Regions from separate parts of the Homo sapiens genome. Here region 1 is linked to region 2. The links are contacts of gene promoters, found by promoter capture Hi-C in blood cells and fetal thymus (Javierre and others, 2016). All regions are on one chromosome and are shown on one strand. The core of a region is centred on a gene start or on the middle of the fragment in contact, and the rest is flanking DNA. Distances in the headings are between cores, read along the strand shown.

What was found. Contacts are between HindIII fragments. The CHiCAGO score rates a contact against its expected background, and 5 or more counts as called.
Region 1: a fragment that was not itself captured here is called in contact with the fragment with the promoter of LIMD2 in region 2 in 1 of 17 cell types (naive CD8 T cells); the score reaches 5.8 in naive CD8 T cells.

Annotation. Positions count from the first base shown.
Region 1 is chr17:64,497,512-64,502,236 of GRCh38, reverse strand. DDX5 (DEAD-box helicase 5) reads left to right here. Exons shown (of 13, transcript NM_004396.5): 10 at 14-75; 11 at 168-227; 12 at 1,464-1,688; 13 at 1,911-3,983. The coding sequence ends at 2,314. It overlaps MIR3064 (microRNA 3064), which reads left to right and starts at 1,398; the gene lies at 1,398-1,463. MIR5047 (microRNA 5047) reads left to right here and starts at 924; the gene lies at 924-1,023. The HindIII fragment of the contact is 275 bases long and covers 2,864-3,138 here.
Region 2 is chr17:63,698,695-63,703,977 of GRCh38, reverse strand. LIMD2 (LIM domain containing 2) reads left to right here and starts at 3,853. Exons shown (of 5, transcript NM_030576.4): 1 at 3,853-3,946; 2 at 4,630-4,721; 3 at 4,909-4,950; 4 at 5,040-5,179; 5 at 5,267-5,283. The coding sequence starts at 4,680. It overlaps LOC729683 (a long non-coding RNA gene), which reads right to left and starts at 3,640. Exons shown (of 1, transcript NR_046273.1): 1 at 1,293-3,640. It overlaps STRADA (STE20 related adaptor alpha), which reads left to right. Exons shown (of 13, transcript NM_001003787.4): 13 at 227-1,146. The coding sequence ends at 379. RefSeq lists silencers at 1,875-1,954, 3,145-4,104, 4,195-4,654, 4,745-4,974 and enhancers at 2,375-2,474, 2,270-2,854, 2,855-3,440. The HindIII fragment of the contact is 14,945 bases long and covers 2,492-5,283 here.

The DNA of each region.
Region 1 (4,725 bases), core at 1,752-4,251, 800 kb before region 2:
TCTTTTAACTTAGGTGGCCTGCCATGGGTATCCATGGTGACAAGAGTCAACAAGAGCGTGACTGGGTTCTAAATGGTAAATATTTCAAATGAAGTATTTTTCCCCCTTACTTAACCTAGCTAGAATTCTGCTCAGATAATTGATCATGTATATGCCTTCCTTTGTAGAATTCAAACATGGAAAAGCTCCTATTCTGATTGCTACAGATGTGGCCTCCAGAGGGCTAGGTTAGTACAAACTCGCATTCATGGCTTGGTTTCCCAGAAGATCTCCATTTAACTTTTTTAAAGAAAGTTTATTGCTTTCTTTAACCTGCATTTTTTCTAAGTTTTTTTTCACATAAAGGTGCTGTCTTTGTGGCAAGGCCTAGGCATGACAATCGGAGGACTCGAGGGGGATGGAGGACTAGTGATCGGCTGGCTGCTTCCAGTCGATTAGAGAGGTGAAAAAGCTGAACGTGTGCCAGTAATCTTCAAAAGGCAGAACATATCACCTCTGCCCCGTAAACTGTTCTCTCCGAGGGAAAAAATGGAAGTTATCCTCACAGTTCACTGCCGTGGTATTTCTTCTGTCCCATGCTTTGCATGACTGCCATGGTACAGCCTTGTTTCAAACTGTTCACTGTGATCTGTGGGTCTTTGAGTTTCAGTGAGTTTGCTGAAATGTCGAAGAAGTAGTTCCAAACTTCAATGTTCAATGAAATTTTTGTTCAAGTTTGAAATGGAGAGAGCAGCTTTAAAAGGTACTAAGCCTTTTACAAATTGGTGAGTACTGGCACATGAGATCTAGAGCAGGAGCAACTTCTCACACATAGTAAGTGGGAAAAGAAAGTGCTTTGAAAGTTCCTCCCTCACCTACACAGTAGTCGTCATGTCGAGACCTGCCAGAGAGAGACACATTCTCAAGTGAATCCTGGCTTCTTGGAAGCGCTTGCCTAGACGAGACACAGTGCATAAAAACAACTTTTGGGGGACAGGTATGTTTTCTTGCAGCTGCGGTTGTAAGGTCTTGGCAAGACAAGCAGTGTGGCCAGAATTTTGAACTTCTGATGAATGTGTAATGCAAAGGACCTTGTACATTTTTTTGTTTCAAGGTCCTCAAAATGAGCACATGAAGAGGTTGCTGTGAAACTTTAAGTGGCCCTACTGCGCAGAAGCATTCAGATGTCACTTGATGATCTGTAAGGGAACTTGCTGATTTGGGAATGTGCTTAGGGAACACACATTCCTTTTGACAGGGTCTGTCACTGGGTGGGTGATGAATTATACAGATGACATGTGCTTTTTTTTCTTTTTTCAACCTCAATGGTATTCCTACAGGAAATGGATAACCATTTTAACTGTATTTTTTGCAGCCCGTACCTTCTTGGGAATACAATTGTCTAACTTTTTATTTTTGGTCTGGCTGTTGTGGTGTGCAAAACTCCGTACATTGCTATTTTGCCACACTGCAACACCTTACAGATGTGGAAGATGTGAAATTTGTCATCAATTATGACTACCCTAACTCCTCAGAGGATTATATTCATCGAATTGGAAGAACTGCTCGCAGTACCAAAACAGGCACAGCATACACTTTCTTTACACCTAATAACATAAAGCAAGTGAGCGACCTTATCTCTGTGCTTCGTGAAGCTAATCAAGCAATTAATCCCAAGTTGCTTCAGTTGGTCGAAGACAGAGGTTCAGGTAAGGATGACTGATAGGAAATGTTGGTAGTTACGAGTCACATCGTTGTCTACAAATCCATTTAAATGGTATTGGAGGGTGAGTAAAACCTTGAATGTGAAAACTTAAGCTGAAAAATTGTAAAAACATTTCACGCCTACCATGAATAGATCTGTTTCTTTCTGTCCACAATGATTTGTGTCATAGACATAATTGATCAATTTGCAATTGTTTTCTTGACAGGTCGTTCCAGGGGTAGAGGAGGCATGAAGGATGACCGTCGGGACAGATACTCTGCGGGCAAAAGGGGTGGATTTAATACCTTTAGAGACAGGGAAAATTATGACAGAGGTTACTCTAGCCTGCTTAAAAGAGATTTTGGGGCAAAAACTCAGAATGGTGTTTACAGTGCTGCAAATTACACCAATGGGAGCTTTGGAAGTAATTTTGTGTCTGCTGGTATACAGACCAGTTTTAGGACTGGTAATCCAACAGGGACTTACCAGAATGGTTATGATAGCACTCAGCAATACGGAAGTAATGTTCCAAATATGCACAATGGTATGAACCAACAGGCATATGCATATCCTGCTACTGCAGCTGCACCTATGATTGGTTATCCAATGCCAACAGGATATTCCCAATAAGACTTTAGAAGTATATGTAAATGTCTGTTTTTCATAATTGCTCTTTATATTGTGTGTTATCTGACAAGATAGTTATTTAAGAAACATGGGAATTGCAGAAATGACTGCAGTGCAGCAGTAATTATGGTGCACTTTTTCGCTATTTAAGTTGGATATTTCTCTACATTCCTGAAACAATTTTTAGGTTTTTTTTGTACTAGAAAATGCAGGCAGTGTTTTCACAAAAGTAAATGTACAGTGATTTGAAATACAATAAATGAAGGCAATGCATGGCCTTCCAATAAAAAATATTTGAAGACTGAATTAAGTGGAAATTGTACTTTATTTTATATAATGTCATGTAAAACTTTGCTTAAGATGGTCTGGTTTTTTTTTTGTTTTTGTTTGGTTTTTTTTTTCCATGAAAACAAATGACTGTTCCTTTTTATTTAATTTGGGAGGCAGGGGGAATCAGAAGGCCCTTCTTTATAATGAGCTATTCATATTGCAGGAGTCAGAATGAATTGATACAGGTGAATTTTTAGTTACAGGCTAAATTGCATAAAAGCTTTGTCAGCTTCCAGCATCAGGGGAGTCATTTAATAGCCTTTTTCCTTATTTGCTAGTATGGTTAAATGAGAAAATAGTAAAATAGATACAAAGTCATCTATATAGTGTGAGAACGTGGGTGACTTTTTCAAAGTTTATAATTTAAAAAGCTCCAAATAACTGGCTTTTTCAAGAGACTTATACTCATGCTCTTGGCTATACTGTGAATTACTGAAATGTTGAACAAACCTGTGAAAGACATACATTAGCCCTTTAAGATGGCCAGGAGCTAAGCTTGAGTCTCCTTTACTGAATTTCGTTCTTAGTGCAGGTTACTTGTAGATTCTAGTCTTCACAGGCTCCCTGGGGCTCTTAACTAGTCACACTGGGAGTCATGAATGTCTTTCCAATAATTCAGGGAATTCTAGAGATCCTCAAACTGTAAGGTCTATTCATACTCAACACAAGGAAAAAACCTCATTAAAATTAATGACTAATCAGGAGGCAACGTAACCAAAAGCACAGTGAATGAAAGTTTTCATGGTAGGTTCAACATGGGTTTATTGCTAGAAAGATCCAGGGGATAGCTTTAGGTTTAACTTCGGCTCACCAACGTAACTTTCTAATCATTTATTTCAGTAATAGCTAGAAGTGGGTCTGAATGTTTTCCCAGAGTCTGATACGTGTTTTTTTTTGCCAGAAGAGAGGTCTTCAGGAGACTTCATTTAAATTCTGATTATTAAACTGAGGCTTTAATTGATGTTAATGCCTTATGTCAAATGTAAAGTTAGAATTTGCTAGGGCTGGGATAGGGAGTGATATTTCTAGGACTTAGACATTGAAAACTAATTCAGCCTGTAGTAACCTGGATGGTTTTCAATGGCATGGTTAGTCAAATTCATGGTTTTAAACTTAGAAGCAGCTTTCGGGGGAGAGGGTAGGTTGGAGCATTTATTACATATTTTACTGTTTAATGTCTTAACCGTGGGCCTTTTAATTTGTAAACACTGAAATGATTGTTGGGCTGTGGAAAACATTTACCTATTTACCTTGGAAGTTTTAAAAGACAGTCCACTTTTTAGCATGTGTGTTGTGTCCAGCCTGTGGTCGTCTTAACTAATAAATGTGATTTTTCTCCCCATTCTCTCTTTTTATTTATTTGCGTATAGGCCTTTTACCTGGTGTGAGTTCCTGAATGTGGAAAACACCTGGCAGTAGTACCCAGCTTTGCAGTTAATTACTATCTAGCTGGCCTTTTTTTAAACCCTTGTATACACTTGTAAAGAAGAACTATTTCCTGAACCTGGTACAGCACTTTACTAATGATAAAACTTTACTCCTGAATTACATTAACTCAATTGCTAAGCTGTTACCCCTCTTAATCAGGTAGTAGTTTGGTAGTCTCACAGTGAAATGTAGATTGTTCCTTTTTCCCTGAACCTCTTTAAAGGTTTTCGTAACTGAGGCTGGTATAAGAAATCATGGACTTTGGAATCAAACTTCCTCAGTCTGGGTATACCACTTTTCCACTTTCTGGGTAGGTCTTAAGGTCTCGACCTATTTAAATAGAAACTGCAAAATCAGAAACCTGCAATTTAATCATGAGTCTCTTAATAATAACAGTCACAAGTCTCATTGTTTTGATGAACCCATAGAAGGGGCCCCTGGAAGAAATTGCACGTACGTGGTTTTCTCTGACACCAGGAGGGTTTAAGACATGTCAGGGCCCCTTGGTTTATTTCTAGTGCATTCCCAGGTGAGGCAGATGCTGCTGGCTGGGGACTGCCCTTTGGAAGCCACTGCAATATTTAAAGTGACCATACCACTACCCTAGTCACGAAGCCTATCGCCCCCCTCCCCGGAAGCTTAAGCGTCAAGACAAC
Region 2 (5,283 bases), core at 2,604-5,103:
GGTTCTAGTTCTGGTTCTAACAACTCACAATCCCTTTAGCTTTCTCTCCCCTCCCTTTGAATGAGAGAAACTACCCCGCTTCCGAAGCCCCTGAAAGACACTGCTCCTTCCTCTCATGGAGTTGGCTCCGACAGCCCGTCTGCCACCAGGCCATGGTTCCTTGCCCCATGGTGTCCTGGGACCCAGAGCAACAGGATCTGTCACCCACCTCTCTCTTCTCCCCCAGATCAAGCGACGTGCCTCAGAGGCTTTGCCCGAATTGCTTCGTCCTGTCACCCCCATCACCAATTTTGAGGGCAGCCAGTCTCAGGACCACAGTGGAATCTTTGGCCTGGTAACAAACCTGGAAGAGCTGGAGGTGGACGATTGGGAGTTCTGAGCCTCTGCAAACTGTGCGCATTCTCCAGCCAGGGATGCAGAGGCCACCCAGAGGCCCTTCCTGAGGGCCGGCCACATTCCCGCCCTCCTGGGCAGATTGGGTAGAAAGGACATTCTTCCAGGAAAGTTGACTGCTGACTGATTGGGAAAGAAAATCCTGGAGAGACACTTCACTGCTCCAAGGCTTTTGAGACACAAGGGAATCTCAACAACCAGGGATCAGGAGGGTCCAAAGCCGACATTCCCAGTCCTGTGAGCTCAGGTGACCTCCTCCGCAGAAGAGAGATGCTGCTCTGGCCCTGGGAGCTGAATTCCAAGCCCAGGGTTTGGCTCCTTAAACCCGAGGACCGCCACCTCTTCCCAGTGCTTGCGACCAGCCTCATTCTATTTAACTTTGCTCTCAGATGCCTCAGATGCTATAGGTCAGTGAAAGGGCAAGTAGTAAGCTGCCTGCCTCCCTTCCCTCAGACCTCTCCCTCATAATTCCAGAGAAGGGCATTTCTGTCTTTTTAAGCACAGACTAAGGCTGGAACAGTCCATCCTTATCCCTCTTCTGGCTTGGGCCCTGACACCTAAGTCTTTCCCACGGTTTATGTGTGTGCCTCATTCCTTTCCCACCAAGAATCCATCTTAGCGCCTCCTGCCAGCTGCCCTGGTGCTTTCTCCAAGGGCCATCAGTGTCTTGCCTAGCTTGAGGGCTTAAGTCCTTATGCTGTGTTAGTTTCGTTGTCAGAACAAATTAAAATTTTCAGAGACGCTGCTGGAGAATGGCATTGTGTCTGCGTCAGCTCAGGGGCTACAGGCTGCTTCCTGGTGTGTGTGCTTGCAGGGATGGCCGTGCTGCCCCAGGTGAGAGCTGTCCCACCATCCAAGAGCAGGCCCATGGGTGCTCACTGAAGCTCAGCAGTGACCTCTTACACTAGATAGACCAGTTTATTTGAAAACCTGTAACAGATCTGTCTCTTAACTATCTAAAATTTTAAGACTATGAATTTTAGCCTGTGGTCATCAAACCACTTTGGAGCTAAAAAGTTCCAAAGATTGAGATTGAGGCAGAGGATGCTGGTGGCCTTTGGCAGGAAAGGAGGTAGAAGGGTTTGTCTTGCAACCGGACATGGGTGTCTCCTTACCCTGGGTGCTAGCACCCAAAGAGCAGGAAACCTAAGAACCAGCCCCGCCCATCCCTGCCATGCTGGCTGGCGCCAGCGAGTGTGAGCCAGGGGGTGCAAATCTGAGGCTCCCTGCAGTGCTTCCAGGGCACATGGCTTACCCTTCTCCCAGTCCCTCAGGGGGAAGGCCCTCCCCCAGCTCAGGCACCTCAAATGCCCCTCTAACCTGAAGCTGCACTGAACCATCAGGTGCCCTTGCTTTCCGTTTCCTCCCAAATTTTAACAGCAGTTTAAAGAAGAAAAGTAAGCCTCTTTGGGCAGTGAGAGGCTAAGGTGAAGGGAATGACACTGACCCTGGGCTAGGATGGGGCCTGGGGCGAGTGAGTGTCGGGGGCGGCGGGGAGCATTTCCGGCCCTCCTCCCCCTGCTTTAAACCTCAAGTTCCCTTCGCCTCGCCCCGCCCTCCCCCCCCCACACACACACAAACACAGAGTCTGTCGCCCAGGCTGGCGTGCACTGGCTTCATGTTGACTCACTGTAGGCTCCACCTCCCGGGTTCAAGCGATTCTTCTGCCTCAGCCTCCCGAGTAGCTAGGATTACAGGCACACACCACCACGCCTGGATAATTTTTGTATTTTTAGTAGAGACGGGATTTCACCATGTTGGCCAGGCTGGTCTTGGACTTCTGACCTCGTGATCCACCTGTCTCTGCCTCCCAAAGTGCTGGGACTACAGGCGTGAGCCACCGCCGAGCCAAGTTCCCTTTTTTTGTTTGTTTTTGACGCTGGTCATCAGTTTCCTTTGCTTCTGGATGCCTTCTGCACCTTGCTGTTGGGGCATCCTCAATGCCCATCTGCAGCTCAGCCCACAGGCCCGTCCTGGGCAGGGTGCCGGGGCCTCACCATGCCCAATGGCAGCAAGCCCTGCTCCTAGTACCCCCGGGGCTTCCCGTTTCTTGCATCAAACAGCCCCTTTGGAGAATCTGATGACAGGTGTGGAAGCTTTCCCGAGAGGCAGCCACTTTAGAGGGTCTGACGCTCCCCACTAGAGAGTCGGCCCACAGTGCAGACAAAACGCAGATCTTCCTCTAGAGAGAACAGAAGGCTGGAGAGGAGACGCGGAGCCGGTCCGTGGAGTCCGCCAGCCTGGGAAACAGCTGGTCGCTGGGGAAGCTGCAGCCTCCCTGCTCCCCTGCCAGGCGTCGGGCGAGAGCTGTTCTGTTCCCTGACAAGCGCGTGGGCCGCCAGTGCTATTCCTGCCACAGTGTGGGAAGGCGCTGGGCTAAGGGCTGTGCTTCCCGGAGCTGCTTCTAGCCTGATTTCCGGCCAAGCCACGCAGTCCCTGGTGCCCGGGAAGGCGCCGGCCTCGCCGCCGCTCCAAAGCGAGTGGCCGTCTCTCGCCGGCTGTGCCTCCGGCCTGCTGTGCGGCTGCAGGGAGGGAGCAGCTCTGCGGCCCAAGCTCTGTCACCTCAGCTCTCTGGGCCGCGGCTCCCACGTGAGAAATGAGGTGCGCTTGTTGGAGAGGGGGCCCCCGTTGCTGCCCACAGAATTCCGCCCCAGAAACGCTTGAGTACGTGGAGCCTCGGGGGACGGGTGCTCCGGGAACCACGCATACCGGCCTCCCCAGCCCGTCGCAGGGTTGCAGAGGCGCCGAGGGCTGGGGGGGCTGCCGGGGCTGCCGGGCCCTCGTGCAGGCTCCTCCCCGCAGCCTCGCGGCCGGGCCTGGAGACCGCGTGCCCGGACGCCGCCGCCAGCCTCGTGGGCCGCAAAGGGGCGGGGGCGGCCCCTGGCGGCGGGAGGACTCGGCCGCCCGAGGGACCCCGGGCCAGGCTCCGGGGTCGCCCCGGCTGGGTCTCTGCGGCCCCACAGCTCTGGGCGGGGATGGGGGCGCCGGCGCCTACGCGCGAGGCCAACCGGGGGAAACCGAGGCAGTGAATGGCCCAGGCCCCGCCCGGTTATCCCGGAGCCAGGCCGGGAGCGCCCAGTGTCCCGCGACCGCAGCCGCCGCAGCCTGAACTCGTCCCCTCCCAGTAGGATGCGGAGCGCGGCCCTTCCATCCTGTCCCTGCCACCGTTGCTTCCCCACGCCGGGCCGCCGTCGGGATGGGCAGACGGCGCGGCCGGTACCCGAGGCCTGCGAGCGCGAGGCCCGCGGGGCGCTGCGGAGCCGGGAGCGCGGAGCCGGGGCGGGGGACAGACAAAGGCGGGGACGGCGGCGAGGGGAAGACAAAGCGCGGAGGGGGGTCGGCGGCGGCGCCGGGGCCCCGAAGGCGGCTCCGGGCGCGGCGGAGCCAATGGGCGGGCGCGGGGCGGGGGCCGGCGGGGGCGGTGCAGCGATAAGGCGGTGGCGGCGGCGGTGGCTCGGGGACCACTGGTAGCGGCAGCAGCTCGCGCCCGCGCCCTCCTCGTACCCGTGCGCCCCCGGAGACCGATCCCGCCCCGCGGCCCAGGCCGGGCCTGGTGAGAGCCGCGGGGGGAGGGGCCGCGTCCGGCTCCGGAACCGGGAGAGGCGCCGAGGGGTGTGGGGTGAGGGCCGCCCGTGGGGTCCCGGCGAGTCTGCGAGCCGCTCTCGCCCGGGGCGCACAGGCTCGAGTCCTCGTTTCAGGGCCGGCCCCCGGCTGGGCGGAGCCGAGACCCGCTGGCGGGGCTCGCGGCGTCGGGGTCTGGGGTCCGGTCCTCGCGGGGCCAGGTCGGGGGCCGAGGGGCGGGGCGGGCGGGGACCTCGGGCGCTGTCCAGGGGCTGCGCAGCCTAGGCCTGGACGCCCGGGCGCGGCGCAGGGCAGCGAGGGCCGGGGTCAGGTCGGGGCAGCGGCTTCTCATCGCGGCCCCGCCGGCCCCGACCTCCCCTCACCCCAAGCGGTCCCAGCCCGCGGGACGCACACGGCGGCTGCGCGGGAGCCCCCGGCCCCTCCGCTCCCGCTAACTTTGTTCTTCCGAGGGACGGTGCCACTCGGGACCCCGGCCCCTGGGGAGCAGGGGTGGGGGAGGTGGGTGAGGGGCGGAAGTGGCAAGACCAAGAGCAACAGGAAATGACTTAGGGAAAGTCCCAACCGCAATCCCCCCAGCCCCTGCCTGTCAACACCCCCCACCCTGCAGGCTGGGGCCGGGCTGGCGGGGCCCTCCCGACTGACTTCCCCTTGCAGAACCCAGCGGGTGCCGCTTCTCCACCCGAGGCTTCCACCTCCAACGAGCCATGTTCCAGGCTGCAGGAGCCGCCCAGGCCACCCCCTCTCATGTAAGTGCCCGGCTGGGTGGGAGGGCCCCCCGGACAGGAGCCTGGCCTGGGGTGAAGGGGAGAGGCATCAGAGTTTGCCGGCCCCCTTTGTGCCCTGCGGCGCGCCCCTGGGCCTTGGGCTGATGGCTGCAGCCCTGATCCAGGGCCTCCCGGAGCTGCCCCTGCCCTGACCGCCCCTCTCCCTCAGGACGCCAAAGGCGGCGGCAGCAGCACGGTGCAGCGCTCCAAGGTAGGGGCCTGGGGCCGGGTGTGCGGGAGGAGGGGTGTGAGGGAGCGGGATGAGCACTGGGGCAGCACCTGGCTGAGCTTCCCGCACAGTCCTTCAGCCTGCGGGCCCAGGTGAAGGAGACCTGCGCCGCCTGCCAGAAGACCGTGTACCCCATGGAGCGGCTGGTGGCCGACAAGCTCATTTTCCACAACTCTTGCTTCTGCTGCAAGCACTGTCACACCAAGCTCAGGTGCGCCCCTGCCCTGCCCGCCCCCGCCTCGCCTGCCAACCCAGCCCCGACCTGACCTGACCTGACGCCGTTGTTTGGCTTCTGCAGCCTGGGCAGCTACGCCG